2 separate regions of the Homo sapiens genome follow, and region 1 is linked to region 2. The links are contacts of gene promoters, found by promoter capture Hi-C in human tissues and cell types (Jung and others, 2019). All regions are on one chromosome and are shown on one strand. The core of a region is centred on a gene start or on the middle of the fragment in contact, and the rest is flanking DNA. Distances in the headings are between cores, read along the strand shown.

Region 1 (2,700 bases), core at 177-2,676, 580 kb after region 2:
CCCACACAGGGCACAGACCCCACGCACCCCACACGGGGCAGGCAGCTCACACAGGGCACAGACCCCAAGCACCCCACACAGGGCACAGACCCCACGCACCCCACACAGGGCACAGACCCCACACACCCCACACAGGGCAGGCACCTCACACAGGGCACAGACCCCATGCATCCCACACAGGGCAGGCACCCCACACAGGGCACAGACCCCACACACCCCACACAGGGCAGGCACCCCACACAGGGCACAGACCCCACGCACCCCACACAGGGCAGGGATCCCACGCAGGGCACAGATCCCACGCAGGGCAGGGCCAGCCCAAGGCCAGGCCCCTCCCCTGTAGATCTCCTCCCAGGCAGGACCAGAGCCACAGTCACTTCCACACTATCTCCTTCCCTAGAAACCTCTGCAGACTCTTCCTCCTCTCCTCGATACACAGGGGCCCCTGCCACAGCCTGACTCTCTGCCACCTCGTGAGTCTCTGGAAAGCAGGGTCGGCCTCTGAATACAGAGGACTTGGGTCCTGCCGGAGGATGCTTGGCCAGTGGGTGCTGGCACGTGAGCAGCCCCCGGGGAGTCAGAGTGGGGCTGCAGCGAAGGCCGTGGTGGTCGAGGTGAGGGTGGTGGCCAGGTCTTGTTGCCGCAGTGAGGATTCTGGGGTTACCCTAAGAGCCACCACATTCAGGCACTCAAGAAAAAGCACGTCAAAATAAAATATTTTCACATGATTAAGAACTCCGCGTGATTGGTCTCTGGTCCTCCTATTTCTCAACCATTTTTCCTCTCTAGACGTAAGCAGTTTCTCATACAAAGGGAAGCTTGGACTAGCAAAGGGAAGGTTCTTGCTGTTTAAAATTCTGTAATCCCCAAGCCGCAGCAAAGGCTTCCCTGACACCCCTCAGAAGTGCACTTAGGCCGGTAGCCAGGCCCATGTTGTCAACACAACACAGACAAGCTGGGGTCCACAAGACCACCCGAGGCTCAGCGATTTGATGGAGGACCCCGGGACTCAGGATAAAGGTGGTGGCTGCCGTGGGAGCAGTCAGCCAAGTGAGGGGGGCGGGCAGGGGCCGTCTGCTACCTCCTGGCTCCATGCTGTGGGACTTTGGGCCCATTTCTCAGCCTGTCTGTGCCTCTCAGCCCTTTCATCCATAAAGCTCTGCTGTGTGAGGAGCTGTGGCCCCTCGACAGAGGGGTCCCCCCAGCCCTGTGCTCTCACCGCCCATGCATTCGGCCAGGCAGGCCTGTGCCCTGCAGGAGTGACGGACACAGCTCAGGCCTCAGCGCAGGTTTGGACGTTGATCTTGTTTATTTTAAAATACCCACGATGCTGTGTGTGTGGAAAGGAGGCCCAGGGTGGGAAACCGTTCTGTTTGGTTGTCATCTGAGCCCTTTTGCCGACATTGCTTCCTTCCTTCCTGGCTTCTTGTTCACCATGGTGACCGCTGGATGCTGGTGAAACCACCATGGGGCTCAGGCCCTGCTCCTTCCCACCCTTGCCACATAACCCTGTTTGCCTCCACAGGCTTCCTGTGGAACTGGTCCTTCCGCCCCACCCCACCCTACCCCTACCCCACCCCGGCCTGGAGATGGGGAAGGCATGGAGGTTGTGCAGGCAAGGGCTGGACGCACAGCCTTACCTCTGTGTGACCCCTTCACATACACTGCGGAAGAAGCCAAAGCTGAAAGGCGTAAGAGATGACCCAGCTCCCATCGGCAGGCGGGAGGGCTGAGGTCACGCAGCAGACAGGGGTAGGCCCTGTCTTTCTTTAAGTGATCAATGACGGTAACTGACAGAAAGAAGGCAGAAAGAGAGAGAAACCTGGAGATTGGAAGGAGAAGCCAGTCTCACCACAAGATGGCTCACAGTGCTCAGCGGGCGCCCGCCAGCTTCTCTTGTTGGCCCAGGACAGGCTGTTCGGAGCTTGTCTTGCTGCCCCAAGGAGGATGTCAGTGGGAATATGGTTGCGCCCTCGTTTGGAGTTGTGCGAGCGTTGAGCTCAGTGCCCGGGTAGGAACTTGGCGTTGTGGACCATCCGCCTCGTGTAGATCGGCTGTGATTTAGACTTCTTGGCCAGAAGTGCTGTATTTCATGGCTTTGAACATCCGGATGAGGCCAGATGTTTGGTGTGGACAGCATGGTTTTTAGTCAAATGGAAGAGAATCTGTGAGCAGCAGCCGTGCTACAAAGCTGCACCCGGCCCTGCCCATCAGTTCCATGAGCTGTAACCGCCATCGGCCGTGAACTTTCTGTTGTTTGAAAATATCGCCATGGAAACATCCCTTTGTGGAGCAGAATCAAGAATGTATTTTGACGTCTTCGAGTTTTACGGTGGGACGCAGGAGTTGCACATTTTCCTATGTTGACAGTATCGTGGCCTGTGTCTCCTAAAAGACTCTTGCTAGAAAAGCCTAGAAATTAGAGGTGCTAAATGATTGATACAAAAGGCATTTGTTCAGATGAGCAGCTGAGGCCACACACCTCCACGTCCCTGGGGCCCAACCTCAGGGTCTCTGCCTTGGAGCCCAGCTTCAGACCTCCCAGGGAGGTAGAGGAAGGGGCTTTGGGCCCAGACCCCACGGAAAGCTTGTCCCCTCGAGAGGGCCACACTTCCTGGACACTGGGCTATCAGGGTAGACACTGTCCCCCCAGCTAAGAGGGACAGGTGCTGAGGAGGGATGAGGGGCTTTGAGAGGTCA
Region 2 (2,700 bases), core at 167-2,666:
GCTTTCAGTAACTGCTGTGAATCTAGCAAATTACTGAACCTTGACGGGGGTCTTGGGGACCACTAAAGGTGGACTTGATGCGAGAAGGGCAGTCAACCAAGCATGGTGACTCACGCCTGTAGTCCCAGCACTTTGTGAGGCTGAGGTGGACAGATTGTTTGAGCGCAGAAGTTCTAGACCAGCCTGGGCAACAAGGCGAAAACTCTTCTCTACAAAAAAGAAAAAAAAAAAAAATTAGCCGGGCGTGGTGACATCCACCTGTAGTCCTAGATACTCAGGAGGCTGAGGTGGGAGGATCGCAGAGCCCGCAGAGGCAGAGTTACAGACGGAGGCCAGGGCTTAGGAGAAAACGTCACAGGACCGCATGAGCAAACCATACAGTCAAACTGTTACTTCCCTGTGCCAGAAACGAGCTGCCGGAGATGCAGCAAAGAGTAAGACTAATCCGCTGGGTTAGGCTGATGGGGATGCGCGAAGAGCAAGGCCCTGGGTTAGGCAGAGTTGTTGTGAGGATTAAAGCAGAATGCTCGCAGAGGCCTGGCAAGTCCTCAACCCTGGAACCGAGAGAAGGCCCCTCTAGACTCGAGAAAGGGAAGCCCCACCCGACTCCTGCCCCTACGCCGTGGCCCCACCCCCACGGTGGCCCCAGGCCTCATTTAACCCCGCCCACGCCATCGCCTCGCCACCCCCCCGTCTTTAGCCACGCCCTTTAGCGTCACGGCCCCACGACAGCCACGTGGCCGCAGGCCCATTTAATCCCGCCCACGTCGTGGCCCGGCCCCGCGGACGTTGGCCACGCCCTTGGCATCAAGGCCCCGCACCCTCCACAACCCGGACCCCGCTTAACCCCGCCCATTCGGTCGCCCCGCCCCGACAGCACGGCCCCGCCCCATCCCTTAGCCCCGCCCACCTCACCGGGGTTAGAACCCAGTCTAACTCCGCGGCCCGCCGTCTTCACCCCACGCCACCGCCCACCCGCGTCGCCCTGGCCCCGACGCACGGCCCCGCCCTCCCCACTGCGGCTGGGACCCACGTCACCCTTCCCACCCCTGGCATCACAACCCCGCTCCCCGACCCGGCTGGACGCTCGCCCCGCCCCACAACGTCAAGGGCCACCCCACCCCCACCCGGGCCGCCGCGCTCCTCACCAGCTCGAAGCGGTTGTTGACTCGGACGCCCTCCTTCCCTGCGCCCCCGGGACGCCGGACACCAAGCTCCCGCTTGGGCCCTTCTTCTTCCGCGTCATCGTCATCACGGAGATCGAAATGCAAGGCGCCGGGCCCGAGGGGCTCCTGGCCGCGCTGTTCCCCCCTCAGCCTCCGGAGGGCCCGGCGCGACATAGGACCGAACGACCACGACGTCTGGAGAGAGGGAGAAGGAAGCGCAGAAAACTCGGCTGTCGGCGCGCCTGCGCACTCTTCGCGCGGGGTCGGGGGCGGGGGAGCTGGCTGCGCGCCTGCGCACTCTTGGCGCGAGGGGTGGGGGCAGGACCTGGCTGCGGCGCCTGCGCGTCGCGGCTCTCCGGAACTTTCCCGCTTCAGCGGCGGCGTCTGGGCGGGCTCCGGGGGGTCCGGGCCAGGTCTCTGGAGAGCTGGGTGTCTGCGCGCCGTGCGCACCGGGCATGGAGAGGTGCCCCGCGGGGATGACGGGCTTCGATTCGGGGTAACGGGCGCGCAGCCGGCGACAGTCGGCCCTGCCCGGCCTTGCCCATCCATGTGGCCCGGAACCCGCAGCCGCGTTCTGCCCGCCGGGGCCTGTCCCCGCACCGTGCCTGCAGCATTTCAGCTGCGTCCCGGACGTTGCTAGTTGGTCCTTTTCGTGTCAGGGTGTCATTCGAGTGATCTAGCCGTCGATGCCCGCCTCTGCCCTGGAGCCGCCGCCCCTCGAGCAGCATTGAGTGACGCGGCCCTTACTGCCCGCCCGAGGCCTCTTTAGGGACAGTGGTTCTGACAGTTCTAGGACAGGCCGCCCGCGTTTGTCACGATCTAAGGGCCGGGCGCGGTGCTCACGCTTGTAATCCCAGCACTTTGGGAGGCCAAGGTGGGCGAATCACCTGAGGTCGGGAATTCGAGACCAGGTTGGGCAACACGGTGAAACTCCCTCTACTAAAAATACAAAAATTAGCTGGGCGTGGCTGCGCACGCCTGTAATCCCAGCTACTCGGGAGGCTGAGGCTGCAGTGAGCCGAGATCGCGCCACTGCACTCCAGCCTGGGCGACAGAGCCAGACCCTGTCTCAAAAAAATGAAAAAAATAAAGTAGATGAGGCTGAGACAGTGCTGGGTTCAGTGGGCGGAGGGCACAGCTTCCTGTGCCTGGGGTTGGGGACATGGGGACAGGAGGGCATAGAGAAGACAGGTGCCAGCAGCCTCCTGCCCGACTTACTGCGGCTTCATGAGCACAAGCAGCAGCCCTGGTGAGCCGGCCTGGCCCCTCCCAGGATGGGTTAGGGTTTTATTTTATTTTGTGAGATGAGGTCTTGCTCTGTTGCCCAGGCTGGAGTGCAGTGGCGCAATCTCGGCTCACTGCAACCTCCATCTCCCAGGCTCAAGCACTTCTCCTGTCTCAGCCTCCCGAGTAGCTGGGACTACAGGCATGTGCCACCATGCCCGGCTAATTTTTGTACTCAGTAGAGATGGGGTTTCACCATGTTGGCCAGGCTGGTCTCGAACTCCTGACCTCAAGTGATCTGCCCACCTCA

Evidence for each region. The method cuts DNA at HindIII sites, captures the fragments that hold promoters and counts their contacts. A contact is called where the count stands out against the background at its distance.
Region 1: a fragment that was not itself captured here is called in contact with the fragment with the promoter of TCF25 in region 2 in 1 of the 25 tissues and cell types used here (dorsolateral prefrontal cortex).

What each region holds. Positions count from the first base shown.
Region 1 is chr16:89,296,903-89,299,602 of GRCh38, reverse strand. All of the region lies in intron 4 of ANKRD11 (ankyrin repeat domain containing 11), which reads left to right. LOC124903757 (keratin-associated protein 5-2-like) reads right to left here. Exons shown (of 2, transcript XM_047435030.1): 2 at 1-2,412. The coding sequence starts at 171. LOC105371414 (a long non-coding RNA gene) reads right to left here. Exons shown (of 3, transcript NR_136339.1): 2 at 1,641-2,412; 3 at 1,286-1,452. Among named protein-coding and RNA genes, the nearest start is that of ZNF778, 81 kb to the right of the region's middle. The HindIII fragment of the contact is 5,021 bases long and covers 1-2,700 here.
Region 2 is chr16:89,872,308-89,875,007 of GRCh38, reverse strand. TCF25 (TCF25 ribosome quality control complex subunit) reads right to left here and starts at 1,416. Exons shown (of 18, transcript NM_014972.3): 1 at 1,149-1,416. The coding sequence starts at 1,340. LOC112268179 (a long non-coding RNA gene) reads left to right here and starts at 1,520. Exons shown (of 2, transcript XR_002957933.2): 1 at 1,520-2,040. RefSeq lists silencers at 632-1,101, 1,572-1,691 and enhancers at 1,772-1,931, 1,702-2,658. The HindIII fragment of the contact is 23,130 bases long and covers 1-2,700 here.